Linked DNA regions of Homo sapiens: region 2 is linked to region 1. The links are contacts of gene promoters, found by promoter capture Hi-C in blood cells and fetal thymus (Javierre and others, 2016). All regions are on one chromosome and are shown on one strand. The core of a region is centred on a gene start or on the middle of the fragment in contact, and the rest is flanking DNA. Distances in the headings are between cores, read along the strand shown.

Region 1 (5,528 bases), core at 2,846-5,345:
TGGGGTAGTATTTTTAATATGTTCACTGGGGTAGTATTTTTAATTCCCTTCCAGAACTTTTCCTTTGTATTCACAATTTGGCTAACTGGCTCAAGAGGCCTAGCTTTCAGCCCATCTTGGCTTTCTACATGCCTTCCTCACTAAGCTTAACCATTTTGAGCTTTTATTTCAAGTAAAAGACATGGGAATCTTCCTTTCACTTGAACACTTAGAGGCTGTTTTAGGGTTTTTAATTGGTCTATTTCAATATTGTTGTGTTTCAGAGAATAGGGAGGCCTGAGGAGAGGAAGAGAAATGGGGGGCTGATTGGTGGAGCAGTTAGATCACACACATTTATCAATTAACTTTGCATGAGTGCAATTCATGGTACCCAAAAGCAATTACAATAATAACATCAAAGATCAAAGATCACGGTCCACCATAACAGATATAATAGTAATAATAAAGTTTGAAACATAGTGAGAATTACCAAAATGTGACAGAAAGAAATGAAGACAGCACATACTGTTGGAAAAATGGCACTGGTAGACTTGCTTGATGCAAGGTTGCCACAAACCTTCAGTTCGTAAAAAATGTAATATCTGCAAAGTGCAATAAAGCAAATTGCAATAAAATGAGATATGCCTGTATTTACATGGCATAATTCTTTCCATCCTTTCAATCTTTCTGTAGCCTTTTATTTGAGGTGTCTCTTACAAGCAACATATAATTGATATTATTTTTAATTCTGTCCATAGCATTTGCCTTTTAACTGGAGTATAGATTCCATTTATATTTAATGTACTTGCCAAAAAACCCTCCTGTTTTAAAAAATTTACCTTTTTTTTTTTTTTTGAGACAGAGTTTCACTCTGCTGCCCAGGCTGGAGTGCAGTGGTACAATCTCGGCTCACTGCAGCCTCCGCCTCCTGGGTTCAAGTGATTCTCCTGCCTCAGCCTCCCGAGTAGCTGGGACTACAGGTGCCCACCACCACGCCTAGCTCGTTTTTTGTGTTTTATTTTAATAGAGATGGGGGTTTCACTATGTTGACCAGGCTGGTCTCGAACTCCTGACCTCAGGTGATCTACCCTCCTTGGCTTCCCAAAGTGATCATCTATTTGTTTCTACTTGTCTGTGTTCCTTTTTTCCCTTTCTTGCTTCTTTTATTTTTTATTTTTTCATTTCCCCTCTTTTTTACATGTTATTCATTCTTTTTCTATTACTTTTGCTGTTATTCTAGAGATTATAATATTCATTATTGATGTATTAAAGCCAAGTACTTTTATCAATTCCTATACAATCCTAGGACTTTAGAACACTTTACTTTCATTTACTCTATCTCACTTTTTGTGCTGCTATTGTGTATATTTTAATTCTACATATATTTAAACTTCACATGACGTTATTTTTATTGTTTTATATAAATTGTGTTTATTTATATCTATCCATATATATATATGTATTTATATCTATCCATATATAAAAGGATTGATTGCTCTTCATTCCTTTAGATGTCTCCATGATTTCATTTGGGATTATATTCCATCTGCCTGAAAAACTCCTTTTGGAATTTCCTTTAATGTAAATCAGCTGATGATCTTAGTGTTTCTTGGTTATAAAACTGGCTGTATTTTATTTTCAATTTTGAAGATCATTTTTACTGGGTATATAATATAGGTTGATAGGTAATTTCTCCTAGCGCTTTGAAAACATTTGAAGGTGTTTAGGCTTCCATTGGTTCTTTGAGAATAAGCTTTTAATTTTATTGTTGCTCATTTGCAGATTATATCTCTGTTTTCTTTGCTGATTTTAAACCTTTTCTTTTTGATTTTGTTTCTCAGTAGTTTACAATGTGCCTAGACATGGTTTTCTTTGCTTGAAATCCTGCTCTATGTTCATAATGTTTCTTGACTCTGAGAATTGTTGTTCATTAGTTTTAAAAAATTTCCAGCCGTTATCTTTTCAAATACTGCTTCTTTTCCTTTTTTCTCTCACCTCTCTTCCTGATATTCCAATTACGTGTGTGTTAGAATGTTTTACCACATATCACATGTGTCATAGTCTCCTTTCTGAGACCTTATCTCTTTTATAGAAAGTTCTTTCATATCTCTTGTATGTCATTTTTCATATTTTGTTTTGCTTATTAGCTTCACTAATTCTTGCTTAAGTTGTATCTCATCTGTTATTAAGCCCATAATTCTGTAGTAGTTTTAGTTAGTGTGTTTTTTTCTCCAATTCCAAAATTCCATTGTATTCTTCTTTGGAGTTTCCAGTTCTCTGCTGAAAACTCTTTATCTTGCAATTTAATTTCTTGAAGATATTTAACAGAATTATTTTAAAATCTGTCTTTAAACTTTAATATCTGGATCTTCTGTGTGTTTATTTCTGTTTTCTTTTTCCCTTAGTTTTTAAGACAATTCTGTGTCCTTTGTTTAAATTAAGTTTCAGACATGGTGTATAAAATATTATATGGGTAATGTGTTGCTCTGAATGATGCTTTTTTTCCCCAGAGAGAATATTTACTGTTGCCATTTGAAGCTGGTTTTCAGCCCTTGGGTCTATTTCCCGTTCATCCACACCCCTAGGGTATAGCTCTTCGGAGTCCCAGCTGAAAGCCTAGTTGCTTACCAGCCCCTCATCATAAATAGGTCCTAAACTCCAATTTTTTTTTTGTCTCCCCAACCCCATGAGATGACTGAAAGCTCTGCTTACTTTCTCACTCTTTCAGCCATGGCTTTAAAATCATCAAATACCTCATGGGAAAAGTGGTGGCTTTCTGAGCTGCCTATCTTTCCAGGATTTCAGTCATCCAAGTCCTTGCTGGGAGAGGAAATTTTTAACTTTTGTCAACTTTTCTATTTTTTCTTAGTGAGAATATTGAACACAAATAAACTAGTATATCAGTGCCAGAAGCAAAACTCCACTGAGACAGTCTGAGTAGAGCAGTGGTGTGATTTGGTTTCGATTTTTAAAAGATCACTCTCATTGCCTTGAAAATGAACTATGCGACATTAGGGAGAAAGAAGGATGGAAGCAGGTGGTCCAGTTAGTAAACTATCACAATAATCCAGGTAAGAGATAACGATGGCTCAGGCCATGGTGGTAAGGTGGAAATAGAGAGAAGTGATCAAACGCCGCATCTAGTTTGAAGGAAAAGACAAGAGGGTTTACTGACAAACTGGAGATGAGCATGAGAGAGGAATCAATGCTCATCCCAAGATTTTTGGCCTGAACAGCTAGAAGGAAGGAGATGAAGAAAACTGAGACGGGGAAAGCTGGGTAGGAGTGCATTCATGAAGACCAATCAGCAACTTACTTTTGTGTATGTTAAGTCTGAGATGCTAATTTGACATGTAAGTGGAGATGCCAAATGCATAGTCAAATACACCAGTCTGAAGTTCAGGGAATATTTGGAAGCTAGAGATACAAATTCTGTAGTCATGAGCATATAGATGGTAATTAAAGTCGTAAGACCGGATGAGAGGACCTCGAAAGTAAATATAGAGACGACTACAGACAATATAATAGTGTCTATTTCATAGGGCCGGTGTGCAGGGTTAATAATATTTATACAACTCTGCCTCCAGACCCCTCTCCCAGTGTACGGAGATCAGGATCTCATCACCCCTCCCCACCACGTGAAGTCCTGCTTACAGCTCAAATGCCTTTTATTAACCGAAGTGCCTCCAGACCCCTCCCCTCCTCACCACGTGAAGTCCCGCTTACAGCTCAAATGCCTTTTATTAACCGAAGGTCAGCTTTTGTGACTCTCAGACGCTCAACAGGTGCGCAACTCTGCTAACGCAGTAGGCTGTCCTGGCCAAAGGGTGGTGCTGTGAGTCGCCTCCAGCCTCCGGGCCGTCCCGAAAGCTGCACCTTCTCCCCCTGAGCTGCAGAGGGCGCGCGTGAGGCATCGGGCGCTCAGGACCCCGCGGGAGCTCAGCGAGGGGGCGGGCGGCCACGGAGTGAGGCCGGGGCGGGGTCGGGCGCGGGGCGGACGTGGGGAGGGGTTGGCCGGGGCCAGAAGCAGGGTGCAGGGCAGGCGCGGGGCGGTCACGGGGGCGGGGCCGGTCGCGGGGCGCGGGGCGGGCCCGAGCTACCGGTAGTCTGCCTGCCGCAGTCCGAGCGCCGCGCTGGGGAGAGCGGGTGTTTGAAGGCTCCGCGGACCGGCACTAGGAGCCGGGGGCGGGTCCGTGACCCTCCGGCTGCTCGGAGTGAACAGGCGGCCAGGAAAGAAGCGGGCCTGAACACCATGATCCCTTTGGAGAAGCCAGGCAGCGGCGGCTCCTCCCCAGGCGCCACCTCAGGCTCGGGCCGGGCAGGCCGGGGTCTGAGCGGGCCGTGCCGGCCGCCGCCGCCGCCCCAGGCCCGCGGGCTGCTGACAGAGATACGCGCCGTGGTGCGCACCGAGCCCTTCCAGGACGGCTACAGCCTGTGCCCGGGCCGGGAGCTGGGCAGGTGAGGACGGGCGGGGCCCGGCGCGGAACCTTCCCGGACGCGCGGGGCGGGACGTGGGCGCCGATAAGTGCCGGCGCCGCGGCGGCGAGGCTGAAGTGGCGTTGCTGCTGCCGATAACGCGCGTTGTGACTTGGCACAAACTTGGGTGCCGACGGCAAGTAGGGCAGCCGAGTCGCACCAGCGCCCCCTCCACGCGCCGCGCCCAGCAAGCGAGTGGTGGTAACTCGATGGCGGTCCCGGAGGCGCGGACACTTTCCTCAGCCCTTTCGTTCTCTGTGGCGTTTCGAATGGCTATTTAACGAGAGAAGGTGCGGGCCGCGCTCTGCCTTTCACCCCGAGCAGCGGGTCTGAAAACCAGAGGTCTGTGGAGCCGACTTTGCATTTTTCCTTCAACTCTTGCGACTTTCTTGGTCTGCCTGTGTGGTTTTAATAAAATACAGCATCCGTTGTGACCGCTTCCTTTGCACCGGCGCTCTGTTACCTTGTGTCGGTCTTCTGCTGAATTCATTTTCGTTTTCTTGGTTGGTTTTCTGCCGTTTTAGTTCTAAAGCATTTAGGTCCCTTTGCTTCGAGTTTAGATTGGTTTCTTTCGTGGGCGCTTGGCCCTTTTCTCGCTTTTTACTTTGCTGGGAACCGATTCTTGCCTTCTCCCCCCACCCCACGCTAGCCCACCCTTTTTTTGTGGGAGTAGAGAGAGCTTACAACTTGGTCTGTAAAGTTGCAGGTGCAGGCTGTTCGGATGCTTTACATTTTGTATGCTGAAGAGGGGTGATCGAGTGATTTTTGTGGGGTTTGGCGACTCTTCCTTGAGAACAGTTTGAAGAAGTTGTTAAATACTCTGGCTTTGGGGGCAGACCTGAGTTCATATTCGTGCCCTTCTTGCTGTGTTTGCCTTTGGAGGGGTTAGACTCTCCAGCCTCACTTTCCTCATCCGTAAAATCGTATAATGATGACAGTACCTACCTCAGAGGTGGCCTGAAGATGCCATGCTTGTCAAGCGCATACCACTGGGCTTGCCACATGGCGTTCAGTAAATGTTCGCATTATTGCCAGCATTTGTCATGGTTGCAAAATAGCACCATGTTGTAATG
Region 2 (5,528 bases), core at 1,295-3,794, 630 kb before region 1:
GCCCAGCCTGGTCTCAAACTCCTGGCCTCAAGCAATCCTCCTGCCTCAGCCTCCTGAAGTGTTGGGATTACAGGTGCGAGCCACTGCACCTGGCCTACAGTTATCATTTTTAACACATGTGCATGATCTAACTTACTGGAGTCCTGCCAAAATGGTTGCCCAGGAAAAACAGTATTACTGGAAACCTTCTCCAACGATAGCTCATAAGGTATACAAGCAGTCATATTTGCCCAAAATATAATCCAGGAAAAGCATTACTTACTTCCCAAAGACACTTTCCTTTATCTGAGACTCCCTTTGAAATACAGCAACTAGATTTTTTTCTAATTGCCACTTTCATAAGGCTACAAATATGTCCTGGTAATTATTTGCATGTTTTCTTATTGGGTAGAGGCATTTCCATGAAGAAGAGCAATAGCCTTAGCAGTAAGTAAAATTATTGTAGAAAAAATTATTCCAACCCAGACATTTCATTGGAACTTCATAGCAACAGAGGTATTGAATAATTGGAATAGATAATTCACTGGATAGATAATTCAATCAGCATGTAGCATCTGGCCTATTTTTCAGCATTTCCATTGTGTTTATTACTCCCTATCATCTGGGTTAGTAGAATGCACAAACAGAATAATAAAAACCCAAATGGCAAAATTAACTGAGGCTTTTAAAATTCCTTGGCCAAAATCCATTCCATTGGTTTTGCTAAACAAAAGATTTACTCCTTTTGGTAAAATAACAGTTATCTCCATTTAAAATAACAGGCAAACCTATCAAAATGTCTCCTAGAAATTGTGCCACCTTGTGACTTAGTAAAATAATCTTTTCACAGAAAGCTTCTTGGAAACATAAATCTAAAGAACCACAGACTTGAACCTGGAGATTTTGTCTATTGGAAACATTTCTTAAAAGATTGTCTCCAACCAGGATACAGCGGACCTTACCAGGTACTTCTTACTAATTCTTGTGCTGCTAAACTAGAAGGCATAGACTCCTGGATTCACGTCTCACATCTAAGGAAAGCTGAGCCTCCTGAATAGACTGTTTCACCAGAGAGTAATCTTCTACTTAAAATAAGGCGATGCCAATTGAGAAGAAGATGGTCGCAGACATGGTTGGGTGTCCCAAGACCTGGACCAGGTCTGTATCTAAATTAATGCTTAATATTAACAATTGTTAATAGATGGAGAATATTTTATTTTACAAGCTTCCACCCAACTTCTTTTTTTTTTCTCCTTAGTTCTCATGCCTTGGTACTACTATACCACTTGTTGCCCATAAAGCAACCTCTTTTTGCAATGGGCCCAACACTATGCTAATAGGTTACAAAAGGATGCTCATTGGGTATGTGGTCTCATGTCCCTTTCCAGTAGTTCTGGATTTCCCATGGTGGAAATCTCTTCAAGGGCAAGATTGGATAGAATATCAGAAATATTATATATCCATGTTTCCCCAGCACAGTTATTGGTACTTAACACTAGTATGACTAAACATAATAACCATCACTGGTCTATTACTAATACCTTACAAAATAAAGGGTAAGGGAAGAACTTCTCCATAAAAGAAATTAATTCACTAGCTTTAACGCTGTGCTGCCCCAGTTGAGAGACGAAACAGACACTGCCCCAATTGAGAAATAAGACTGCAACCAAATGTAGGTTCAGCTGCTCACCACTTGCAAAACTAAATAACAAGGACAAGGTTCAGTATAAGGAAATTGACTTCATTTTCCAAAGCTAACAGTGGGGAAGTGGTTCAGGCTCCTGCCTTAATGAAACTGCTTCAAAATTCTTGGGCAAAATGCTAGGGTTTAAGAAGGGGAAGTTTGGTATGGAGGATATGTGGTGGGTGGGGGGTGGTGGGTGGGGGCGTGAGAGGTGGTGCTGGTCTACGTGGCTTGTTTTGATGACTTATCTTGAGTTATTGTCCCATCTTGAGAATGGGTTGACACCATCTCAGGCTTGACCAGGTTGTAAATTAGCTGCTGCCTTGAAGTAATCTTCTGGTGGGAGATAATTCCATAGGCACCCAGATTGTCTCAAGATTCAATCCCTGGAACTTCTAAGCAAACATAATTAGATAAGTTAGCAATGCAAGGAAGTACCTGGTAGAAAGAAGGAGAGTAAAGCTTATTATTTCATTACTAATAAGTTGTAGAAAGGACTGCAGAAAGAAAAAGAAAAAAATAACAAAAATAGGGTCCTTGGTTACAACACCTCACTATCAAATGCCATTCTATTTCTATGGAACTCAAGTGACATATTCATTCTAGCTACTTCCTATTGCAAAGGGGTGTAGTTAAAAGGTATTGGAATGGAACTGATCTACTTGGAGGTGAAAGTGTTCTCAGGTACCTGGGCTCAGATGAAACCTGTTGCAGCATTATGGTGGAGAGCCTTGCAAGTCCCTGAGAAAGTCTATCTAGTATCCCATGCAAAAGGCGCTGCAGCAGTAAAACCCACAGCACAGAAGTATCCCTATTTCCCACAATTATAGTGAGAATTACCAGTAACTGTTCCCATCAGGATGGTCCTGACCCAAACTAGGATGTAAACCATCTAATGGCAATGTAGGGTCTGGGTTTAACATGGCTTGAATTTCTTGCATGTCTTATGTATGTATGTATATATACGTGTATGTGTATGTATATATGTATATATACGTGTGTGTGTGTATGTATATATGTATATTTAACAGATTACAGGAGGAGCTATGAATATTCATGAAGATGGTTATAAACCCTGTCTAGTTCTTAAGAATGGATCAGTTTAGTTAAATGGCTGTTTCCCATTCCAGGAGGTGCCATTGCAGATGGGCTAGGTCTCAATATGTGATGAAGGTGAATAGGAGGTATTTTTATGGAAACAGAAGAAAAACAAAGTTGATGTTGGGCAGAATCTATCTTCAGTTTCAAAAGAAGAAGGCAGTGGCAATCTGACTCATTTTTCTCACCTGTGTCTCAAGGAATAAGCTTTAGCTTGTAAGGCCTCAGTAAAAAGGTAGCAGCAATTTTATTGAGTCCAAGTCAAAAAACTGGAAAAAGAAATTTAAAAGCATTAGTCTGGGGAATTGTTGCCTGGAAAAAATAAAGATTCATTCCAAATTGCAGAAAATAATACAGATCCAAAAACAATGGACAAGACTACACTCTAACAATAGGTGTACTATAGTTTTTTTTTTTGAAACACAAATTTTCTTTTTTCAGTCCCCATTTTTACTAAAGACAAATCATGGAACTATTTGTAAAACAAGTTTTAGTATTATTATATTTGGCCTGATTAGCCTCATTATTTGTATAAAGTGCAGCAAGAATAATTATTTGCCATATAGGCCCTTTTAAAAAAATTGACTTTGCTGGAATGCTATTTTTTTATAAGAAATCTCAGATTAGACTGTTTAAAGCCCTGAGTTCAGCCATGGATTTATCTGCCTGCAAATATCTGTATGAATTGGGTAAATTCTTCTCCTTTCAAGATCCCATAAAAACTTGGAGCTCCTAGGCCTGTCAGAAAGTGACATTCTTTACTTACCACAGGTCAGGAAACCTATATAGGGACTATATAGACAAGAGGTGAGGCCAGTTTTTCTTAGGGGCCTTTTATCAGCTCTGTAAGTCAACTTTGATTCCTTAAAGCAGTCTGTTTATAACTGAAACCATGCCATTCCAGTCAAAGCCTTGGTAAAATAACCAGTGCCTTCAATGGTGTCCTGTTTAAAAAAAAAGAAAACAGATTTTTATTGAACTTATAGAAATAAACATACTGCCATAAATTAAGTATACTTACAAATAGTTTTCAAATTCTGGAGAAATCAGGTAAAGGACAGAAATGTTTCAAATTTTTCTCACAAGAATATACTCTGTAAATCACTCAAAAGAAAAAGAAAGATTTTCTGGACTTTGAAAAACAAAGGAATTACCAATACTTTAAACAAAAAGTCATAAAAAGATTATTTTGGTCTTCCATTAGTTCAGTCTGTGTAATCAACTCTTTTTCTGCTTGATATTCATGAACACATTAGCTCTTCATGGGAGTCTTGGAAGTTTTTTACTTTATTCTAATGTCATACTCTCAAAAGTTATCAGAAACCTGCATTCAAGAGCACCTACCTATAGGATCAGAGTCCTATAGCTGATTATAAATCCGCATTTTGAAAAGAATCAAAATAAAACAACAATTATAGATGACAACAGTTTCAGAGCAGCCTTGGTTGAAGACACAATTGACAAGGAAATTTCATTATCTCTGTGGCACACAATAATTTAACATAGCAACCATTAATTATTACTGATAGCATATACTGAGATATATCAGAATTATAGGAATCTTACACAGTTTTGGAACAGATATTAGTAATACATTTATATGAATGTATAATGAATCCAAGAAAGTTAAACATTATTTTATATTTCACAATGCTTCCTGTATGATTTTAATATCCAAATAAGTCAAATATGTCTCTTTTAGACTTCAGGAGATGTAATATTTAAAAAGGTTAATGAGATCTAAAAAGGCTTAATTTAGAACTTGGAATTTCAATTTTGGAAGGTTTGTCAAATATCAACGGCTTAAAACATTTGATAACACAAAATGGAATCACAGATTATTCATTTAGCTGAAATGACAACTCAAAAATATCAAAAGACAAAAACCTTTACTCACTAATAGAGGGGAGACTCAGTTTTCTAAACAACAAACTGATATAGTTTGTATATTTGTCCCCACCCAAATCTCATGTTGAATTGTAATTCCCAGCATTGGAGGTGGGGCCTGGTGGGAGGTGATTAGATTATGGAGGTGGATTTTTCATGAATGGCTTAGCACCACCCACTTGGTGCTGTTCTCACAATAGTGAGTAAGTTCTCATGAGATCTGGCTGTTGAAAAGCGTGTGGCACCCATATTCTCTCTCTCTCTTGCTCTTGCTTTGTGAGATGCCTCCTCCCCCTTTGCCTTCTGCCATGATTGTCAGCTTCCTGAGGCCTCCCTAGAAGCCCAGCTGATGCAAGCACCATACTTTTTATAAAGCTTGCAGAATCGTGAGCCAATTAAACCTCTTTTCTTTATAAATTATCCAGTCTCAGGTATTTCTTCATAGCAAGAAAAGCCTAATACAAAGACCCAATAAAGAAAACACCAGGCCAACTAAATCTGTCTCTTCTCTCTTTCTGTCTTTTTTTTCTTTGTTTTCTTTGTTTTCCTGTAGCTTACTCAAAAGTCAAAGAAAACCCTTTCATTATCTCTCAATATTATATGAAAATTTTGTTTAAAAAAGAAAAACAAATTTCACCTTTGTATTGTTGCATTACTAACAGTGAAGTTATTTTTTTTCTTTTCTTTTTTTCTTTTTTGAGACATAGTCTCCCTCTGTCACCCAGGCTGGAGTGCAGTGGCATGATCTCAACTCAGTGCAACCTCCACCTCCCAGGTTCAAATGATTCTTATGCCTCAGCCTCCCCAGTAGCTGGGATCACAGGTGCATGCCACCACTCCTGGCTAATTTTTGTATTCTTAGTAGAGACAGGGTTTTACC

Evidence for each region. Contacts are between HindIII fragments. The CHiCAGO score rates a contact against its expected background, and 5 or more counts as called.
Region 2: a fragment that was not itself captured here is called in contact with the fragment with the promoter of STK17A in region 1 in 1 of 17 cell types (M1 macrophages); the score reaches 6.2 in M1 macrophages.

What each region holds. Positions count from the first base shown.
Region 1 is chr7:43,579,013-43,584,540 of GRCh38, forward strand. STK17A (serine/threonine kinase 17a) reads left to right here and starts at 4,096. Exons shown (of 7, transcript NM_004760.3): 1 at 4,096-4,437. The coding sequence starts at 4,232. RefSeq lists a silencer at 3,716-4,495 and enhancers at 4,896-4,945, 5,076-5,185. The HindIII fragment of the contact is 5,737 bases long and covers 1,731-5,528 here.
Region 2 is chr7:42,952,428-42,957,955 of GRCh38, forward strand. It overlaps LOC105375253 (a long non-coding RNA gene), which reads right to left and starts at 3,702. Exons shown (of 3, transcript XR_927207.3): 1 at 3,528-3,702; 2 at 2,950-3,030; 3 at 1,700-2,058. The HindIII fragment of the contact is 843 bases long and covers 2,124-2,966 here.